2 separate regions of the Homo sapiens genome follow, and region 1 is linked to region 2. The links are contacts of gene promoters, found by promoter capture Hi-C in human tissues and cell types (Jung and others, 2019). All regions are on one chromosome and are shown on one strand. The core of a region is centred on a gene start or on the middle of the fragment in contact, and the rest is flanking DNA. Distances in the headings are between cores, read along the strand shown.

Region 1 (4,928 bases), core at 2,189-4,688, 54 kb before region 2:
TTTTAGAATATTTTCTCACATTTATTTGACTATTTCAGTAACATTCATTTCTGAGCCGTGTATTGTATAGTAATTGCCATTTTGTTTTCTGTTTTTTTGTGGTTTTTTTTAACGCTCTGTCGCCCAGGCTGGAATGCAGTGGCTCCACCCCGGCTCACTACCAGCTCCGCCTCCCAGGTTCACGCCATTCTCCTGCCTCAGCCTCCCGAATAGCTGGGATTACAGGCGGCCGCCACCACGCCCGGCTAATTTTTTGTATTTTTAGTAGAGACAGGGTTTCACCGTGTTAGCCAGGATGGTCTCGATCTCCTGACCTCATGATCCGCCTGCCTTGGCCTCCCAAAGTGCTGGGATTACAGGCGTGAGCCACCGTGCCCGGCTGCCATTTTGTTTTTTCTATAAACGTTTCCTGTAGTAAATAATCTCATTTTCAATATGCTTTGTTTTCCATGTTCTTATTCTTTTTTTTTTCAAGTTTTAACCAAAGCTTGTATATAAGATTACTTTATTCCTGCATCTTCTCAATTGTTTCTTCCTTGTATTTGCCCTTTTCTTTTCCTACTTGGCGAGATTTGGCTTCCTTTTCAAGGATCTTTTTGCAGTCTTTGTCCAGTTTTAGCCTAGTGATAACTACCTTATTGGGGTGAATGCCTACATGGACAGTTGTGCCATTAGCCTTTTCCCACTGCACCTGTTCAATGTAGATGACATATTTCTTTCCTGTAAACCTGAACTACTTTGCCAAGTTGCTGACCTTTATAGTGTCCTCGTACAACCTGAACTTCATCATCCTTTTGGATGGGCATGGATCAAACGTCGTACTTCGTACTTCTGTCTCAGCTCTTTGGAAAGAGAGGAAGACAAAATCTTCCTGCGAATGTGGGAAGGTGCACTGAAATGACTTTTGTGGTTCTTGCTTCTGTCAGAAGTCACAAAGGGATTGAACTTCATTTTGGCTGCTCCCACTTCAGTGATGGCTGCAAAAGGAAAGAGCTCCATGTTCTTACTCTTAATTCATTTCCAAACTGTCCCCTGCACTTGTCTGATTGCCTGAATTCATTTTAAGGCATCTGGCTTTATGCCATTTTCATCTTGCAGAATACTCTCAAGGAGCCCTCTAATCTGCAACACAGGCACATTTGTTCACTAAGCCAGCTGCTCAGGTATCTTGGAGATATTCTTAGCATCTCTTGAATTGTTTTACCTGTTTTTATGTTTTTCCATTTGGAAGTTGGTTTCTTGTTTAATTGGAGCACATCCTTCAGTAGCTTTCTAGTAAGGTTCATGGGAAATAAAGTTTTTGATACCTTTTGATACCTTTGTATCTGAAAATGTCTTTTTTTTTTTTTTTTTTTTTTGAGACAGAGTCTTGCTCTGTCGCCCAGGCTCGAGTGCAGTGGCGTGATCTTGGCTCACTGCAAGCTCTGGCTCCCAGGTTCACGCCATTCTCCTGCCTCAGCCTCCCGAGTAGCTGGGACTACAGGTGCCCACCACCACACCTGGCTAATTTTTTTGTATTTTCAGTAGAGTCAGGGTTTCATCATGTTAGCCAGGATGGTCTCGATCTCCTGACCTTGTGATCCACCCGCCTCAGCTTCCCAAAGTGCTGGGATTACAGGCATGAGCCACCACACCTGACCTCTGAAAATGTCTTTAGTCTATCCTGATATTTAATCAGAAGTTTTTCAGGGTCTGAAATTATAGTTTTGAAACAATTTACTCTTACGTATTTTAATCTTTTAAATTGAGAAATATATAGTTATGATATCTACAATGTATTATGAAATACATTAACATAAACAAATGTTCTATAAGCATGACATTTAGTCAGCTACACAAATTTGGTCAGGAACTCGTACCCAAGGTCAGCTGGCATTATAATGGATAAATTTAAGCTCCAAGTACTATTGTAATGCTTCAGTTATTTTTATTTTTTTGAGATGGAGTCTAGCTCTGTCGCCCAGGCTGGAGTGCAGTGGCGTGATCTCTGCTAACTGCAGCCTCTGCCTCCTGGGTTCAAGCAATTCTCGCACCTCAGCCTCCCAAGTAGCTGGAATTACAGACGCATGCCACCACACATGGTCAACTTTTGTATTTTTTAGTAGAGACAGGGTTTCACCATGTTGGTCAGGCTGGTCTTGAACTCCTGACCTCAAGTGATCCACCTGCCTCAGCCTCCAAATTGCTGGAATTATAGCCGTGAGCCACCACACCTGGCCAGTTATCTTAATCTTACACCAATCCAGAGAAAATTACACATCTCGTTAAATTACAATAATGAATTATAGTAGACATCAAAAATAGGATGACATTGGGGTGAAATGTGCTATTAGAGATACATGGATTGACTGAAATATTTGAGGATCTGTAAATACAGTGGCTTCCTTGGACAAGAAAACAATCATAGTTTAAAGACAGAATCGTTCTTGTAAGTGATAAGAGTTTCATAAACGAAAAATATAATTGTGTATTTCCAGCATCCCTACTCTGCACTCCGCTTGCCAGTTTCTGGCTACTTAATATTCCACTACCAACCTTATGCCCCAAGAAATCATCACTATAATATTCTTTTCCCCATTTCCCCTACATAATCAGCCTTCTTCCTAATTGTTCTATCCCTTACTCATTGCCGAAACTAAGGCACTGAGATACTGAAAAGAGCATGCATTTGAAATCCCATACTAGGTTGGACAGTTTGTGGCAGTTATCAATATATTGCCTCTAACTTTATCTTTTCAAAGAATCAGCTTTGGTTTTGTTGATTTTCTGTCTTGTTTCCAATTTCAATTTTATTGATTTCTGCTCTAATTTTTATTTTTGTCCTTCTGCATGCTTTACATTGAAAAGCTTTACATTTGCTTTTGTTCTGTCTAGTTTCTTAAGGTAAAGGGTTAAGTTGCTGATTTTAGATCTTCTTTTCTAATATGTTATAAATTTAATGCTATAAATTTCCCTGTAAATACTGCTTTAGCTATGTTACACCAACATTGAAATATTGTATTTGTATTTGTATTTGTATTTTGCTCCAAATATTTAATTTTCCTGAGACTTACTCTTTGACCTAAGGGGTATTTAGAAGGGTACTAATTTTCACATGTTTGTGGATTTCTCAGAGATTTTTCTACAATATCAACTTTAATTTTGTATTATTTCTATTCTTTAAATGTGTGAAGGTATGTTTCATAGCCTATGATGTGGTTTATCTTGGTGAGTGACTCAGAAACTTGAAAAGAAGGCTGATTTTGACTTCTCTGTTTTTTGTTTTTATTGGAGACAAGATCTTAACTAATGTTGCCCAGGTTGGATTCAAAACTCCTGGCCCCAAGTGATCCGCCCACCTTGGACTTCAAAAGTGCTAGGATTAAGACAGGGTCTGGCTATATTGTCCAGGCTAGCATTCAATAGCTATTCACAGGCACAATCATAGCCCACTGCATCCCCAAACTCCTGGGCTCAGGAGATCCTCCTGCCTCAGCCTCCAGGACAGCTGGGACCACAGGTGCACATCACCATGCCTTGCTTCTCTGGGTTTCATCAAGCATGTTTTATGATTACATTTTAATCTCTTCTATTAACTTTTTATTTTATTTATTTATTTTTTGAGACAGAGTCTCACTGTGTCACCAGGCTGGAGTGCAGTAGCACAATATCGACTCATTGCAACTTCCGCCTCCCGAGTTCAAGCGATTCTCCTGCCTCAGCCTCCTGAGTAGCTGGGACTACAGGCACATGCCACCATGCCCGGCTAATTTTTTTTTTTTTTTTTTTTTTTTTGAGTTGGAGTCTCGCTCTGTCACCAGGCTGGAGTGCAGTGGTGCAATCTCGGCTCGCTGCAACCTCCACCTCCCAGGTTCAAACGATTCTCCTGCCTCAGCCTCCCAAGTAGCTGGGACTACAGGCGCATGCCACCATGCCCAGCTAATTTTTGTATTTTTAGTAGAGACGAGGTTTCACCATGTTGGCCAGGATGGTCTTGATCTCTTGACCTCATGATCTGTCTGCCTCGGCTGCCCAAAGTGCTGGGATTACAGGCATGAGTCACCACATCCAGCCTAATTTTTGTACTTTTAATAGAAACTGGGTTTCACCATGTTGGCCAGGATGATCTCGCTCTTGACCTCGTCATCCACCCACCTCAGCCTCCCAAAGTGCTGGGATTATAGGCATGAGCCACCGTGCCTGGCCTTATTGTATACATCTTTTAAAAACATTTTTTAGTGGTTCTCCCAGGGGTTTACAGTATACATTTTAAAAAAATTTGAGGCCTCCTTTAAATGAAATTATACTGTTTCCTTTTCAGTATAAGAACCTTGTAATAGTGTATTCCCAATTCTCACTGATTCTTTGTGGTCTTGTATTCATACAATACTTTTACATATGCTGGAAAAACACTTATTATTGTTTTAAACAGCTAGTTATCTTTTAGAGCAATTACCTTTATTTTATGCACTTTATTTCTTTGTGTAAACACAAGTTTCTGACATCTATAATATTCCTTTGGCCTGAAGTACTTTAACATTCCTCTTAGTGTCTGCTTGATGGCAACAAATTCCCTCCATTTTATTTTTCTAAGTATTTCTCCATTGCTTTTGAGAAATGTGCTAATCGGTTATAGAATTGTGAGTTGGCAAGATTTTTTTTATTTACAGAAGTAACTATTGTGTCCTGGATTTCACATTTTCTGATGAGAGGTCTGTTGTAATTCTTATCCTCCTTCCTTTGTCAGTGGTCATGCACTGCATAACAGTGTTTCAACCACTGACCACATACATGACAGTGGTCCTATAAGATTATAAACCTGCATTTTTATGGAAATTTTCTGTGGTTACGTATACCTAGATACAAAAATAGTTGCCTTTGTGTTACAATTTCTATAGTATTCAGCACAGTAACTTGCTGTACAGGTTTACTAGCCTAGGAGCATTCGG
Region 2 (4,583 bases), core at 1,881-4,380:
TATCCAGGGATGAGAGTACATTTAACTTGTGAAAAATTCTAACACAACACTACAGAAAACATAGAATAATGGCCGGGAGTCGTGGCTTCAGGGCTGTAATCCCAGAACTTTGGGAGGCCAAGCTGGGTGGATCGCTTGAGCCCAAGAGTTCAAGACCAGCCTGAGCAACATGGCAAAATCCCATCTCTACAAAAGGAAAAGAAAGAAAAGAAATAAAAAGAATACTGTCTCTTACAAACCACTCTTCCCACCTGCCCACACTAAGCGTGGCTATGGTGACTCCCAATACTTGCTTAATACTTTCAAATGGGTACTGTTGAGCAGAACAAGAAAGTTAGAAAGTGCATGGGAATGGGAGTGAGGTTGCATAGGGTGCTCAGAGATTGGAAAAATTGAGCCTGAAAAAGTTTTAAGAATCTTGCCCAGCCACGCACGGTGGCTCACACTTGTAATCCCAGCACTTTGGGAGGCCAAGGCAGGCAGATTACCTTAGGTCAAGTGTTCGAGACCAGCCTGGACAACATGGTGAAACCCTGTCTCTACTAAAAATGCAAAAATTAGCCGGGCATGGTGGCGCGCCTGTAGTCCCAGCTACTTGGGAAGCTAAGGCAGGAGAATGGCTCAAACCAGGGGGCAGAGGTTGCAGTGAGCTGAGATGGCGCCATTGCACTCCAGCCTGGGTGAAAAGAGGAAAACTCCATCTTAAAAAAAAAAAAAAGAATCTTGCCCAATGTCACATAGTTAGTAAACTGCAGAGCATCATTGCAAAAAATGGTAAAATCAGAAGAAAAAATGTACTTTTAAGAAAACATATACAAAAAAGGACTCTAGCACAGTGCAAAGTGCAGGGAAAAGAAAGAGATCAGACTGTCACTGTGTGTCTATGCAGAAAGGGAAGACGTAAGAGACTCTATTTTGAAAAAGACCTGTACTTTAAACAATTGCTTTGCTGAGATGTTGTTAATTTGTAGCTTTGCCCCAGCCACTTTGACTCAACCTGGAGCTCACAAAAACATGTGTTGTATAAAATCAAGGTTTAAGGGATCTAGGGCTGTGCAGGACGTGCCTTGTTAACAAAATGTTTACAAGCAGTATGCTTGGTAAAAGTCATCGCCATTCTCTAGTCTCAATAAACCAGGGGCACAATGCACTGCGGAAAGCCACAGGGACCTCTGCCCTTGAAAGCGGGGTATTGTCCAAGGTTTCTCCCCATGTGATAGTCTGAAATATGGCCTCGTGGGATGAGAAAGACCTGACTGTCCCCAGCCTGACACCCGTAAAGGGTCTGTGCTGAGGTGAATTAGTAAAAGAGGAAAGCCTCTTGCAGTTGAGATGGAGGAAGGCCACGGTCTGCTGCCTGCCCCTGGGAACTGAATGTCTTGGTATAAAACCTGATTGTACCTTTGTTCAATTCTGAAATAGGAGAAAAACCGCCCTATGGTGGGAGGCGAGACATGTTTGCAGTAATGCTGACTTGTTATTCTTTACTCCGCTGAGATGTTTGGGTGGAGAGAAACATAAATCTGGCTTACGTGCACGTCCAGTCATAGTACTTTCCCTTGAACTTAATTATGACATAGATTCTATTGCTCACATGTTTGTTGCTGACCTTCTCCTTATTATAACCCTGCTCTCCTACTACATTCCTTTTTGCTGAAATAATGAAAATAATAATCAATAAAAACTGAGGGAACTCAGAGGCCGGTGCCGGTGCAGGTCCTTGGTATGCTGAGCGCCGGTCCCCTGGGCCCACTGTTGTTTCTCTATACTTTGTCTCTGTCTTATTTCTTTTCTCAGTCTCTCGTCCCACCCGACTAGAAATACCCACAGGTGTGGAGGGGCAGGCCACCCCTTCATAAAGGACACAAGAGGACTCACTCCAGGTATCATTGTGCCCTCCTTTCCCCAAGCATACACCCAAAGCAGTCTTCTCTACTATTTAAAATCAGGACATTAAGTGAACAGAACAGCTCTGTAGGCACAGTCACCACCCTAGTTTAAACCACTTATGTCTCTCTCCTAGATACACAATGGTGCCTCCAATTTCTGAAGTCTGTAGCTAAACTGACCTTTTCAAATACAAACAGAATCCTTTCATATTTCAACTGAAAACATTCCACTGGTCCTTTATTACTTTATGGAAGCAATTCTCAAATCTTACCTTGCATTATAATCACCTGGAGGTCTTGGTAAAAGATTGCCTGGGCCACATCCCCAGTTTCTGACTCAGTAGGGCTGGTTTTTTCCTAAGTTCCCAGATGATGCTGCTGGCCTGCGGACTGTACTTTGTGAACCTATGCTTTAAGGAAAACAAAGCAAAAAGATCCATTAAGATCTAGTCCAAGTTTTTTGCCTAGCTCCCATCATGTCACATATCACAGTTATGTGATTTTACAGCTACTCTGCAATTCTTTACCTAACTGTAAAAACCCCTCACCAGGCAGCAAGCTTCTTGGTGGCAATACGTCTCTAGCTTGTTTGAGGAATAAATAAAACCTGTGGTAGATTCCAAGCTCTCAGTTTCAACCATCATCATACTGGCTGATTCTTAACATGCCTGCACCTAAAGCGCCTCATCTACAAAGTTGAAATGATAATTCGTACCTGTAAGACCCTTGTGAGGATTACAGGATGCTTACATAGGTCGAGGGTGCAGACGACGTAGGCTGGTGGGTTCTCAACTGGCAGCTACCACTTCGCTCCCTTAACTCCCCAACCCCCACTCCCAAACACGTACATTAACTCTTTGAAGATAACATAGCCACTTCATAAACCCTAATTCAGATCATAACATTTAAAGCTTAATTGATACAGGCTCAACACCCCCATTCTAACTCTACAATCCTGAATTTTTCACAAGAGCTACGCCAGACACTAAGGAGATCCAGTCGTGGGCAGGCAGCGACCCGGAGGTTTAGGCACAGAGAATGTTCAAGAAGCCCCTGTCCAGTTAAGCCTCCTGGCGAGGCCCTTCTGGGCCTTTCCTGCGGCCTTCCCAGCTCACCTGGAGCAGACGGATCAGCAAATCCGGCCAAAGAATACTCAGGACCCACCGAGCCCCCGCGAGGAAGGACTCATACCCCAACCCCACCAAGTGGGCTGCTTCCTGCCTGGGGCTCAGCCTGCGCGGTGGTTGGCAGTTGCCCCGGAAGTGGGCGGGAAGGACCTGCGCATGCTCTGTGACCCTGGGTGCAGGGATTGTGTGAAGATTGAGAGCTGGGGGCGCCCTCTTCCGTGATCAGGGCCCCGTTGGCCCCAACTGGCATTTAATTCCCCTGGCTGTCTTTTCGGATTCTTATCACTTTTTATGTATATGAGTAAACTTGAGGGTCCAAGTAAGTCTGCAAGTTGGTTTTAAAAGCTTCACCAGCACAGCGTCCCCTCCCAGATGGTGAGGGAGTGGAGAGCTTTGCAGGGTCAACTGCTTCCCGTAGCCTGGGGTCGCAGGGTGGAGTCGTTGAGCACTCCCTATGCTTGAAAGAGGAATAGAAGCCCCTTTGGATTAGTTTGCATCTCAGTGGGTGAGTGGGTGGATCTCTCCCACCCTGTGGGATTGTGCCCTACCCTATGAACTCAGGTTTACCTGAGGAAGTGACATTTCAGGCGGAATTTGAGGGATGAAGAGGCATTCGTTGGATCAATTCCACGGTCAAAGTCTTCAAGGCTGGAAGAAGAGCCAATGTGGAGCCTCTCAACTTTAAAGAATTTAGTACAGGCCGGGCATAGTGGCTCACACCTGTAATCCAAGCACTTTCAGAGGCAGAGGTGGGAGGATCGCTTGAGGCCAGGAGTTCAGGACAAGCCTAGGTAACATTGCCAGACCCTGCGTCTACAAAATATTTTAGAAATGATTTTTTTTTCTTTTAATAAGAGACGGAATCTCTCTTTCGCCCAGGCTGGAGTGCAGTGGCGCGATCTTGGCTCTCTGCAACCTCTGCCTCCCAGTTTCAAGCAATTCTCCTGCCTCTGTCTCCCGAGTAGCTGGGTCTATAGGCGCACGCCGCCACGCCTGGCTAATTTTTTGTTGTTGTATTTTTAGTAGAGACGGGGTTTCATCGTGTTGCCCAGGCTGGATTCGAACTCCTGAGATCAGGCAATCCGCCCGCCTCGGCCTCCCAAAAGTGCCAGGATTACAGGCGTGAGCCACCTCACCCAGCCAGAAATGATAATTTTATTTTTATTTTTATTTTTTTTTTGAGACGGAGTCTCGCTCTGTGGCCCAGGCTGGAGTGCAGTTGCGTGATCTCGGCTCACTGCAAGCTCCGCCTCCCGGGTTCACGCCATTCTCCTGCCTCAGCCTCCAGAGTAGCTGGGACTACAGGTGCCTGCCACCACGCCCAGCTAATTTTTTGTATTTTTAGTGGAGACGGGGTTTCACCGTGTTAGCCAGGATGGTGTCGATTTCCTGACCTCGTGATCCGCCCGCCTCGGCCTCCCAAAGTGCTAGGAGTACAGGCGTGAGCCACCGCGCCCTGCCTAGAGATGATAATTTTTAAAAACTTGGTACAAAAGGAACTGAAAGAGGTCATTTGGTTGGCACTACAACGTGGGAAATTGCAAGAAGTATAAAATATGGAAAATGG

What was found. The method cuts DNA at HindIII sites, captures the fragments that hold promoters and counts their contacts. A contact is called where the count stands out against the background at its distance.
Region 1: a fragment that was not itself captured here is called in contact with the fragment with the promoter of TRIM61 in region 2 in 2 of the 25 tissues and cell types used here (adrenal gland and lymphoblastoid cells).

The regions. Positions count from the first base shown.
Region 1 is chr4:164,920,113-164,925,040 of GRCh38, forward strand. It overlaps the pseudogene RPL26P16. Among named protein-coding and RNA genes, the nearest start is that of FAM218A, 34 kb to the right of the region's middle. The HindIII fragment of the contact is 7,148 bases long and covers 1-4,928 here.
Region 2 is chr4:164,974,527-164,979,109 of GRCh38, forward strand. TRIM61 (tripartite motif containing 61) reads right to left here and starts at 3,131. Exons shown (of 3, transcript NM_001414904.1): 1 at 3,005-3,131; 2 at 2,162-2,299. RefSeq lists enhancers at 3,240-3,319, 3,350-3,409. The HindIII fragment of the contact is 6,036 bases long and covers 2,625-4,583 here.